Regions from separate parts of the Homo sapiens genome. Here region 1 is linked to region 2. Evidence: promoter capture Hi-C in 16 types of primary human blood cells and fetal thymus (Javierre and others, 2016). All regions are on one chromosome and are shown on one strand. Each heading gives the region's core, a stretch centred on a gene start or on the middle of the fragment in contact. The rest is flanking DNA. Distances are from core to core; before and after follow the strand shown. Region 1 overlaps SPTLC3 (serine palmitoyltransferase long chain base subunit 3). Region 2 holds the start of TASP1 (taspase 1).

Region 1 (6,298 bases), core at 3,200-5,699, 530 kb after region 2:
TCTTAAAGTTGAACAGCCTTCACTTCCTTCCTTTTAATATTTTTCACTTTTCTATCATTATAGGAGATATCCCCCTCAATTTGCCTAACGTCAGGATTGTTTGAGAATTGATTCAGGATTGGGCACTCTGAAATAATGTCTCCTTGGCTTATGGACTAGACATCAGCCCATTCCTACCCGCTGGCTCTGGAACAAGAATTGCACCCCAGGTTACTCCTACCTTGGGGAAAACAGGCAGATCTTTTGTATTGATGGCAATCACTAACAAAGTTCAGCAAGCAGCTGGGGGTTGGGCGTGCTGTCCAGGTAGGGGCATCCGGGCCACCCATCAACAATTTCTACCAGTCATAAAGGCAAGGAGTGTTTTGATCTTGAATAACCCAGCTGCGAAACGCCTTTGAAACTCTGGGGCAGTCAAAGGTAGTGGAAAGATCAACTCAAGTTAGCAATGCCTTGAGAGGATATTTCTGAGGAAGCCTTCACAAGCCGGCCAGCCTCCAAGCTGCTGTGCCATATATAGAGTCATCAAAAAGACAGATAACCCACGTCTGACAGCTCCCATTGGTGGCTCTGTCTCAGGTCCCTGTGTCATATAACCAATTCTAAGTCATTTCTCTGTTTAGCTAGGAAAGGTGAGCCTTTCCGCACTGGTCAGCTTGCTGCAGGCCTCCGAGTCGTAAAATGTGTCCTGTTATTTACATACCTGTAGACACCCTCCACCAGGATGAGAATCTTTTTCCAAGCTCTGCGGGTTCGAGGCTGGCCATAGATGACAGCATCTCTCAGGAGCTTCTCTAGGCTTTGTGTGTCTTTAAATAATACCAAAAAAAAAAATTGAGTCATGAAAGGGTTTACTTTTCCTTTTCCACTTTCTTTTTCCAGATGTTTTATGTTCACACTCAGACCTAAACTTTCAGAGAACAAATTCAGAATCAGAGAACCCTTAGGGAGAGAGAGACAGAGGTCTATTTTTCAGTAGAACTTAACTCTGACAAGACAAATAGTTGGATTTGTACAAGTAGGCAGAGTAAACTCTCACCAGTGGGGCATGGTTTCCTAGGCTCTTAAAGGCTCTCCCCGCCTGCCTTAGAGAGATTGAAATTCTACGTTAAATGCATCTCTTAGGTCTAAGCTTTGTTGCAGGCTGAAATGAACTCTGAGAGACATAATTAATACCACTCATCAATCGTGTAGACATGAGCATGTTAGAGTTTAGCTGAGTTTGCACGGATCTCACTTCCTACACTTTGAGCCTTGATTTCTGACATCCCCCAGTCTTAGAAGTTTCAAAACTTTAAAGCAGTGGGACAATTAAGCCTCTTTTTCAAAATATTTGGGGATCTCTGAACACAATAATAGCTCACAGTTATTGAGCCCTATCTGTGTGCCAGGCACCCTTCTAAGCTCAGTTTTTGTCATACCTCATTTAATCCTCATAAGAACCATCTGGAGGAAGTACTAGTAGCATTTCCATTCTGTGGTTCAGGAAACTGAGACACAGAGGAGTTGAGTAAACTGCCTGAGGTCTATCATAAGCAACAGAATCAGGATTTGAACCCATGTAGTCTGTACTGTAATCCACATTTGTAACACTACCCTTTGCTGCCTTATGTGAAAGCCATTGTCCCTTCTTCTCAAATGAAATGGTGATGTAGAACAAGGGAGGATGAATGTCTGGCAGAATAATCTTGTTAACTTCTAATGTCAAATATAATCAATAGTGACAATTCATTTATCTGCTATCAGAGGTTGATGACTGGGCTTGGGTTGAGAGGTCATTTAGAAGAACTTGCCTACCAACCTAGCTGTTTGGTATATATGTACATGTGTGTGTATTATTTTGTTTTTAACATTTAAGCCTAGCAAGAAAAAAATGGCCGAGGTTTATGGGCATATTTTTTAGACTGATTATATTTGTACTGTGTATTTTTTGCATTTCCTAAGCTTTCCCTTTTTTGAGAAGATGAAACTGAAATACTTAGGTCCAGAATCCAATCTTAATTTTAAAAGATGGAGATGCTACTTAACTGCTGGCTTGACTGTTATGCAATGTTCACCAGGCATTAGAAACACCATTTAAAATGCTCACAAAAGGTGACATCTAGCAAAGCTAAATCTTTGAGGTCAGGAGTTCGGGACCAACATGGTGAAACCCAGTCTCTACTAAAAATACAAAAAATTAAGTGGGTATGGTGGTAGGCACCTCTAATCCCAGCTACTTGGGAGGCTGAGACAGGAGAATTGCTTGAACCCAGGAGACGGATGTTGCAGTGAGCCGAGATCACACCACTGCACTTCAGCCTGGGTGACAGAACGAGACTCTGTCTCAAAGTGAAAAAAAAAGATAAATCTAAAGCTGCATAGTCAGTACTGGTTTTGACCACTACAGACAAAGCTCTCAAGAAGCGTATGTGCATTGGCTTATCACTCACTGGTCTAGGCTCAAATTAGCTGCAGTTCTTGGTCTCAATGGAGAGCCCTTCAACTTTGTCTTTGAGTCTCCAGTCTGTGCTCAGATCTGTTTTAGGGCTTCCCCCAAAGCTGAGTGAATGCATTAGTGGCTGCATTAACTTTTCCACACTGCAACTCTGCCACATTCAATGAGGCCACAAGATAGTTCTTTGAAATAGAGTTGTGAATATATTTGTGTGTGTGTGTTTCTTTTTAATTATCAAGTACATTTAAGCAAACCACATTTAAATAAAGGTGACTTCCTATGACTTGGAGTGGGATAGGACAAGTCAGAATTTGATAGTGCAATATCAGAACCTCATCTCTGAGAGGCCCCTGTTAGCATGGCACCTTCCAAGCTGTCCTCAGCATCCACCCACTAGAGACTGGGTATCGGGTCCTGAAATTCAGAAAAAGCATGTGACATGAATAAGATGCTGCATACTAGCAAGATCTCTTGGAAATCCAAACAGTAGTGTTAATACACTATTTGACTTCCTTTAACATCCTTAAGAAAACATCACATAAATAATGAAAAAATAAAGGAAATATATAATGAAATAATGAAGAATTAAGGGAATAATTCTTTATTCAAATATATAAAGCCTTAGGTATTAGATATAGTATGCTACCTGTATGCTACCAATAATATCTGGCATGTTATCAGAACCAACAGATACAAAAAAAAAAAAAAGGTCATTTTCCTTTCCTTTCTTTAATCACTAGCCAGAAACTAACTCTTTAGGTGCTTTGTCAGTTTAAATGTGGAATTAATCAATTTCACCAAGATCGTAAGGACCCGTGAAAGAAGAATTGGAAGAATGGTGGATCTTTGTTTTATTTCATGCCACTTTCCTTTTCTTTGTTTTTTTCTCTTTTTATCTGCAAAACAGGCCTCCTGATATCCTGGCATCACTATTGTGTTCTTTTCACATAATATTACCTAATTGACAAATTTACAGAGCTTTCTTCAGTTCTTGTTCTACTTGACCGTGGGCAGCATTTGACACAATTCAACACACACTTATCTTTTAAGCTTCTTCCCTCTGCCATCTGGACACCATTTTTCATTAGTTTTTCTTATTCCTTTTCCCACTATTTCTAGTATTCTTTGTGAGCACTATTTCCTCTTTTAACCCATTTTCCTTTTATGTTTTCTCCTTGACTTTTTTTTCTATTTTCTCATTAATCTTCCAGTGGTTCTCAACCTTCAGGATGAATAGAAATAATCATCTGGGTAACCAGTTAAAATGCAGATTCTCGAAATTTCTACTCAGAGATTTTGAATCAGTTGGTGTGGGTCAGGGCCCAGACGTTTGTATGCTCAGTATCCCTGGGGTCTGGAACCCATAACGCAAAGCGAGACCTCTACTTTGATCGATATAATGTTTTTCTTACCATTTTTTAGACAAATATGGGAACCTCAAACCCATTTCCAAGATGGAACTTGCTGCAGACTACATTACTGGCCCATTTTCCACCTCATTTGAGTTCCTTCTTCTGTGACTTTGCAGTCCTTTCCTCTCACCAGTGGAGAACGTTTCCCTGCCCCTTGGCTTGGGTTCAGCCAAGTGACTTGCTTTGGCTAACGGAATACAGAGAAGAGACAGTTTGCTAGTTCCAAACCTAGATCTGAAGAGGTCTTATGCATTTCTACTCTTTCTCTTGTGCTTCTGCTAGTGACAGGAAAAGAAAATGCCCAGGCTAGCCCCCTGGTCTCAGGTTGGCCCTGGGAGAGGATTAATGGCACGTAGGGCACGGTTACCCCAGCTCACCTGCAGCCTCCAGTGAGAAATACTTGCTGATTATTATTGGCAACTGAGGTTTGTTCCAGTAATAGTTGCCTAATACAATCTCGAATGGCCCTTCCTGATATAGCCTCTGCCTGTCTTTCTGACATAGTTTGTCAACATCCCCCAACACACAGCCTCCTGATTCTCCTCCATGCTTTTTTTCCTCTTGTCTGTCTGGAGAATGCTCACTCATCACTGAAGTCTTAACCCAAACTCTTCTCGTCAATAATACAGAACAGAGTTAAGGGCTTCCTCCTTGGTGTCCCTCCCGACTTGTCTATTATTTTTTAAGCACTCATCGCGATGTTCGTTTTTTGCTTTCATGTCTCTCTTCCATGAAGTCAGGGACCTCGTCCTCATCCTTCTCGCCCTAGTCTTAGTACACAGTACTAGGCTCAATCATTACCTAATAATTGCATCAATGTTCTTTTCCTGGAGAAAGAACGTAGACTAGGAGACAGGCAAGGAAATGCCACTTGTGGATAGAAATAAGAATTATTAGAAAAGATAAATATCTCCTACCTGCAATATATTTTCAAAAATTGATGGTATCTTTTGTTTTGTTTTAAAACGAGCAGATAGATATTTTTTGAACGTTCCCAAGAGCGTGTTTTAGCGTACATTATTAACCACTAGATGGCAGCCAAGGAAACAAAAAGCGGCTTTCTTGTTTTGAAATTTTCAGTTAATAAACTTTCACCTATTTGGGTATCTTCTTTTCACTTTTGCTTTAGGCAGAGTTCCTAAAATATTGAAGAAAACCTTGCGACTTGGAGAACCAGTCTTCCTTTCCTATAATCTTTTATTTATTATGTCTATAATATTTTATACTATTATTCATCTTCTATAACCAAATCCTCTGAATGGAATAAAGAGATGGTGAATAAAAGCATTCCTGTTAAGAATGTTTTCCCTTTGGGACTTGGAATTTATAAGTTTTTGTGCAGAAATGATAGATGGTAAATGTGGCTCCGACGACACTGGAATAAAAACTAAACCCAAGTGAACTAAATTAGTAGTCATTTTAAAATGAATATTCTAAGATTTGGAAAAAATATGTAAATTCAGAGGCCACTGTGTTGTTTTTGCACCAAAAAGGTCACATAAACACGATGGATTAATCCAGAATTTTAAAATGAACACCACGAGTCCTAAAGAGAAGCTTTTCTCCATTTTTAAAAATAACACGCAAGACATGAAAACAAGACTTTCGGTGGCCGCGCTGTGTTTTATACATTTTGCGGAGGGAAGCAAGAGGAATCCCAGTCTTTTCCAAGTCAGGGACTTCGTTGTGTTTGACTTGAATGGAGATAGCCATGGGAGTGGCTTTTGGTGGAGTTCACAGCCCCCCAGGGTCAACACACCAGGATTCTTGAGCAGAAGGAAAATCAATTAGCCATTTTTTTTTTCCTCCTGCAGGGGATGAACTCTCCGACCTCTTAGAATCACAGAAGCTACACAGGAAAAGGGAAGACTGCGCTCGGCCTGGATTCTGGCCCCACCTTAGCCCCTGGCATGTTCCTCTCTGGTTCTCTGTCGTTCTACAAGGCTACAGTGCGTGGGTTACAAACCCGCAGATTTAAGGGATTGTGATTTATGTTCTGTAGGCCTTATGGGATTCTACCGTTTCAGCAAGCTGCATGCTTACATCTGCAAGGGATTTTTTTTAAAATAATGATGCTTATTAAGGCACTTACACTTGCATTATGTTAATCCCCATGACACCTCTGAGAAGTAGGGAAGGACTGTTAGGTTTTTGTTTTTTGCAGATGAAAAAAACAATGCCAGAAGTTTTGTTAAAAAAAGTTCCCCAAACAAAAGCCCTCCAAACAAACCTGTTCTTGTTGATTTAATAAGAAAATTCTGAGATACGGAAATTAAAATAAAAGTATAATTTTGACACCATCTAGGCACACACACACGGTGCTATGGTACAGTGTGGTTCTTGAGTCACAATGACACACCACGGACTTAAAATGACCACTATTTGAGCATTAATAATGCCTTGGTGTTACTCAGCACAAAATTTGACTCACTAAGGAGGTTTCTTTTGG
Region 2 (6,402 bases), core at 3,179-5,678:
CCCTGGGGCGAGGTCATGATTTTTTTCACTTGATCTGAGGAATGGTTACACACTGTGTTTACTATATGAAGAATCATCAAGCTGTACTTTTCTGTATTTATGTTTAACATCAATAAAATGTTTTTTTTTCTTTTTAAATCTCTGTTCTAGCTGGGTGCAGTTGCTCACATCTGTAGTCCCAGCTACTTGGGAGACTTAGGCAGGAGGATGGCTTGATCCCAGGAGTTTGAGGCTGCAGTGAGCCATGGTAGCATCGCTACACTCCAGCCTGGGTGCTACAACAAGACACTGTCTCAAAAAAATAAAAAATAAAAAATAAATAAAGATAGCCCCATCTTTATGGAACTGACTTTACAGGAGAGATGATTAATAAACTAAAAGAATGGGGAAAATTGTAGAGGATTAGTTGGGGTGTGTGCTACTGATAGAGATAAAACAGGAAGGAGAACAGGCAGGGTAGTGTGATTGCAATTTAAAATAAGGTGGTTAGGAAAAAGTGATTGAGAAGCTGACACTGGTTCTGGTTCAGCAAATTGTATTTCATGTTTATAACAAGCTTATGAGAATGGGGGGACACTCTTTACATGTTACAATAAAAAAGCTAAGAGATTGCAGAGAAAGGTGTTAAATCACAAACTGGTCAGACAGTTTGTTGTGCAGGAAGAATATTTATATTGCCCTATGAATGGGGGATGACAACATAGCTGGCCAGATAATTGACAGACAACAAGGATGAAACCAGAGATGGCAGGTGGGCCACCTTTCATCTTACCAGTCTTCGTCAGGGCTCCGAAGACAATGTGTTGTCATCAGGGCTTGACATGGGAGTCAAGTAATCTCTGGATTATTTGTCTTGCTCAAAATTTTATATATTAAAGAAGATAAAAGGAATTTGTTGGAAGGATAGGGAGTACCTAAGATAATTGAAAGAAAAACTAAGGAAGCAGGTTTTGGAAAAATACAAGCTCTGGAGCAGTAACAGGGAACTCTGTAACCTTGGTTGAATAAACAACTGCTTTTACTCTTTGCATTATTGCTGTCAATTTTCAAATTCCAGGCAAGAAGCAGCTTTAGCTTAGCATGGGTCAGTTGATCATCCCACGGAGCATCCTGATGGACAGTCCCACTTACGCTGGGTGCAAGTGGTGAAGGGCAGTCCCTGGAAGTGAAGTGGGGTGCTGTTAGGAGAAATAAGAAGGAATTCATGCTGGGCAGGCGAAACAACTGTTGTCTACCATAGGACTGCTTGAAGGGTTGTCGCAGTCCATCTATAATTGAAACTTTCTTTTTTCCACGTGGTAGGCAAAATTCTAAGATGACCTGCAAGATTTCTACCCCTGGTGCACAGACCCTGTATGATCCTCTCCCCTGGAGTGTGGATGGAAGCTGAGAATATGATGGCCATCCCTCCTGAAACTTGACGACGAATCATTGACTCTGTGTTCATCAAAGGAGAGATTATCCTGGGGGACCTGACCTAATCAGTTGAGTCCTTTCAAGGTGGAAAAGTCAGAGAGGACTGCTCCTCCTGACCTTGAAGAAGACAAAAGTGGCCAGCTCTACAGCTGCAAGGATTTGAATTCTGCCAATCACCTGAATGAGCTTGGAGAATCGCTCTGGGCATCCGATGAGATGGCAGCTCTGACTGACACCTTGATTTCAGCCTTCTGAGATCTGAGCAGAGACCTGGACACCTGATCCACAGAAACGGAAATATTACATTTGTGTTGTCTTAAGCAGGTGAATTGGTGTTAACTTGCGGCACAACAATTGAAAACTATCACTATTGTTCTGCTACATTTCTGACACATGTGTTAAAGCAATAGTTTTCCAGGAATACAAAACAAAGGGAGACCCCCAGGGAACCAGGACAGAGGGGGCTTACTTAGAGTACAAAGATCAAGATGCAGCAGACATGATTATTTGAGATAAAGGAAGTAATTCCTCAGCTTGCTGCTTTTCCGGGTTTGGGAGAGGTGGGAACAGGAAGAGGGAGGCAACCAGATTTTTTCTGAAGGAGATTTACTAGTATAGACTTTCCTTTCAAATTTAACATGTTGAGTTAATCAAATAGATATTACAACTGTTCGTTATTAATATTTCAAAGGATCTCATTGTTACTGTACCCAATGCAGGTTAAAAATGTTAAAACTTGGGTCTGGGCTGGGCATGGTGGTTCATGCCTGTAATCCCAGCACTTTGGGAGGCCGAGATGGGTGGATCACCTAAGGTCAGGAGCTCGAGACCAGCCTGGCCAGCATGACAAAACCCCATCTTTACTAAAAAGACAAAAATTAGCCGGGCGTGGTCACGGGCACCTGTAATCCCAGCCACTGGGGAGGCTGAGGCAGGAGAATCACTTGAACCGGGGAGGCAGAGGTTGCAGTGAGCTGAGATCGCACCACTGCATTCTAGCCTGGGCAACAGAGTGAGACTCTGCCTCAATAATAATAATAAAAAAAAGGGTCCGAAGAATTTTGTTACTTTTACTTGAGCAGTATTCACCTACCAGAGGATGGCCTGTGTGGCATCTGGGTGTGATACCCAAGACAAAAGTATACAGAGCAGCACTGGGAGATGATTATTACAATGTAGTTAAATTCCAGGAAGAATGTTGCCTAAGAAATGGAAGGGAGCATGTCTATGTCTTTTTAAAACTTTAACATCTTTCTTTTATTCCTGCTGGTTCCAGTTAATATTGCTGTGTAAAAATCCACTTTAAAGGTGCAAAAGAACAACTATTTTATTATGCTGATGGATTCTGCGGGTGAGGAATTCAGAAAGGTCACAATGGGGATGGTTTATGTCTGCTTCCTAATGCCTGGGCCAAACTTTCTGGCACTATATAACAAGGGCCCCATTTTCTCCAGCTTCCAATAACATCTTCCTTAGCTCCCTTTAAGCCCTCATTGGCAGCTTCCTCAAGTCCTTTTAGACTCTTGTTAATACTTTGGATCCCTTCCTGCTCTTGCTGCTTCACCTAGTTCCAAAGCCAGTGCCACACGTTTTACTTTTATGATGTTATTATGTTATGTTTTGTTATAATATCCATCCTACTTCTAGGTAACAAAATCGGTTTCAGTTACTATTGCTATGTAATAAACTGTTATTCTTACTATGTAATAAACTTCTTCCCCTTGCCCCTCCCTAAGAAGTCAGTGGTAGAAGAGAAAGAAAAAAAGCCCCAAGTTACATAATAAAACCACATAGGTTATATTTATAATAATGGTATCAGTGGTTCTCGAACTTTTTGGTTTCAGCATACCTTTATACTCCCCAAAATAGTAGAGAACACTCCAAAGCTTTTGTTTCTGTGGGTTACATCTATTAATATTTACTATATTAAAAATTGAATACAAAGCTGAAATGTGGCTGGGTGCGGTGGCTCACGCCAGTAATCCCAGAACTTTGGGAGGCCAAGGCAGTAGGATCACCTGAGGTCAGGAGTTCGAGACCAGCATGGCAAACATGGTGAAAACCCGTCTCTACTAAAAATACAAAAAATTAGTCGGGTGTGTATCGAGCGCCTGTAATCCCAGCTACTCAGGAGTCTGAGGCAGGAGAATCGCTTGAGCCCGGGAGGCAGAGGTTGCAGTGAGCCGAGATCGTGCCATTGCACTCCAGCCTGGTTGACAGAGTGAAACTCCATCTCCAAAAAAAAAAGAAAAAAACCAACAAAAAACTGAAATGTTAAAAAGTTATTTAAAATAACAATAATAAACCATTATGTGTTAATATAATTAAGACATTTTAATGAAGAATAAATATTTTCCAAAAACAAAAAAATGTGGTAAGAAAAGTGTTATCTTTTGCATTAGTGTAAATTCCTCTATAGCTGGCTTAAAGAAGCCAGTTAGATTCTCATTTCTGCCTTTACATTCAGTTCGACGTGATGTTTTGGTGGAAGTATAAGGAAAATCCATCAGTCATGGGTCATCAAAACCCATGACTGGGTTTCGGTCTTACATCCTAGCCGATAAAAGACCGCCTACACTCCTTCCCCCTGGGCAAGGCTCGTGCCCCAACTCCTACAAGCAATGCAGGCTGAACCTTAGTTTTCCCTACCGTCTAACAGTGCTCTAAGGATTGAAAGAAAGTAACTCTTAAGCGACACCTAGATAAAATGATGGTCAGTTTAATTTCATTTCTCATCACAGTATTAGTCAATCAACCACTCAGATATAATCACATCCTGCGGGCTTATTCAGGGGCGGGGTGGGTAGAGATAAGCAATAGCGCATGCGCAGCTCAGAACGAAGCCCCAGGTGGAGTTAGCGCTGCACCTCTGAGGCCAGGTGAGCCGCTCCGAAGCGGAGGGCGGAGTCAGAGCCGCTTGTGGGAGGCTGCTTCCGACCACGTGGTACCCCGAATGACCAATGGGGAGACTTGATGTCAGCCCCGCTTCCTCACCCTGGCAACGGGCGGGTGACTACTTCCGGTGCAGTGAAGGCTCGGGGCTGAAGCGGGTGAGTGTCCCTCTTTCCCACGCTGTCCGCGCCGCTGCCGCCTCCGCGCTGCTGCCTCTGTGTGTGGGCCCCGTACGCTAGCTGGGACGTCCTCTCCGGGTCCGAGAGGGGGCGGCGCGCAGGACACCCCTTGCCCCGGGCGGGGCTAGAGGAGGGGGCCAGGATGTCCCTAGTTCCCTAGTCTTGGTCGCTCTAGGCGGCCCCGTCGTCCCCCTTCCCAGCCTCATCTCCGGCTTGGCGTCCTCGTGGCCACCGGGGAAGTACTGTCTGTATGTGGGGAGTTCTCGCAGTTCTTCACCCACTTTGCAGTCTCAGGCTGGAGATGTCTCAGAGTCCGAGGTTCGCAGACAGCCGAGAATGTGCGCCTTGTCCTGGGTGGCGGGTTGGGGGTAAGGCAGCCCCTTACTTAGTAATAGAGGCCTGATGAGAGTCCTGCGGGTCGTTAGCACTTACTACTCAGGGGGAGGAGGAGGAGGAAGAAGAGGAGGAGGAAAGGACCGAGAAGATGGAGCAGCTGGAGAGGAGGGGGGGAAAGCAGGAGCTAGAGATGTCCTGGAAATCGAGGGTATCGTGTTTCCGGAAGGAGAGAGTTCAACTTTCCTGGCTTCTGTAGGGGAGGGGAAGGAAAGGTGTGTTAGGGGCCATTAGATTGCTGAATTATTATTATTCTTTATTAGCGAAGGAATTTTTACTTATATTCTTAGGAGTTTAATAATTTATCTTTTTTGTTGTAAATAAAACTTTTCCCCACCACTTACAAAAAGCAGTGCTTACTAAGGAACATCTGGAAAATGCAGAAATAGTTATGAAGAGATCACCTATAGTTCTGCCAACCCAGCATTTTGATCTTTTTTCTAATATTTTATTCATATTAACCTATTTGTGATCATAATGTATGCGTGTAAAATACGGTTATAACTAAGAGGCATAGTTACATACATTGTGTTCATTGCACGGATAGATTGTCTTTTTTCCTCTTGAGAAAGTCTTATTAAGGTATTCATGCACCATAAAATTTATTCTTTAAAATTGTAAATTTCAGTGCTTTTTCTCATATCGCAAAGTTGTGCACCCATCACCACTATCTACTTTCAGAACATTTTCATCACCCCCAAAAGAAATCCTATACTCATGACAGTCACTCCCCATTAGATTCTCTGCTTTCTCTCCCAGGCCTTGTAACCACTAATCTACTTTCTGTATCTATGGATTTTCCTATACTGGCATTTCATATAAATGGAATCATAGAATATATGGCCTCACTTGTCTGGTGTCTTTCAGTTAGTATGTTTTCAAGGTTCATCAATGTCTGTGTATCAGTATTTCATTCTGTTTTATGGATGGGTAATGTTCCATTGTGTGAATATGCCACATTTTGCTTAACCATCATCGGTCGATGGACATTTAGGTTGTTTCTACTTTTTGGCTATTTTGAATAATTCTGCTATAAACATCTGTGTACAAGTTTTTGTATGGACATACGTTTTCAGTTCTCTTGAGTATATACCTAGAAGTGGAATTGGTGGGCATATGGTAACTCTATGTTTAACTTTTTGAGTGAGTGCCAAATGTTTTCCAAACTGGTTGCACCATTTTACATTCCCACCAGCAGGTTATAAGGGTTCTGATTTTTTCATATCCTTGGGAGCACTTATCTTTCTTTTTGGTTATAGCAGTCTTAGTGCTTATAAAGTGGTAGCTCATTGTAGTGTTGATTTGCATTTCCCTGATGGCTAATAATGTTGAGCATCTTTTAATGTGCTTATTGACCCTTTGTATATCTTTGGAGAAATGTCCATTTAATTCCTTTGCCCATTTTTAAATTGAATTGTCTTATATTAAAGTTGTATGAGTTCTTTCTATATTCTAAATGTAAGTCCCTTTCCAGATACATGATTTGCAATATTTTCTTGCGTTTTCTCCCATTTTATGGGTT

What was found. The method cuts DNA at HindIII sites, captures the fragments that hold promoters and counts their contacts. A CHiCAGO score of 5 or more calls a contact.
Region 1: a fragment that was not itself captured here is called in contact with the fragment with the promoter of TASP1 in region 2 in 1 of 17 cell types (activated CD4 T cells); the score reaches 5.7 in activated CD4 T cells.

What each region holds. Positions count from the first base shown.
Region 1 is chr20:13,104,623-13,110,920 of GRCh38, reverse strand. It overlaps SPTLC3 (serine palmitoyltransferase long chain base subunit 3), which reads right to left. Exons shown (of 12, transcript NM_018327.4): 7 at 704-809. It also overlaps a transcript of TASP1 not described here. Among named protein-coding and RNA genes, the nearest start is that of SPTLC3, 99 kb to the right of the region's middle. The HindIII fragment of the contact is 1,919 bases long and covers 3,490-5,408 here.
Region 2 is chr20:13,636,958-13,643,359 of GRCh38, reverse strand. TASP1 (taspase 1) reads left to right here and starts at 4,428. Exons shown (of 14, transcript NM_017714.3): 1 at 4,428-4,466. RefSeq lists a silencer at 4,528-4,677 and enhancers at 4,868-4,957, 4,571-5,071. The HindIII fragment of the contact is 10,129 bases long and covers 3,305-6,402 here.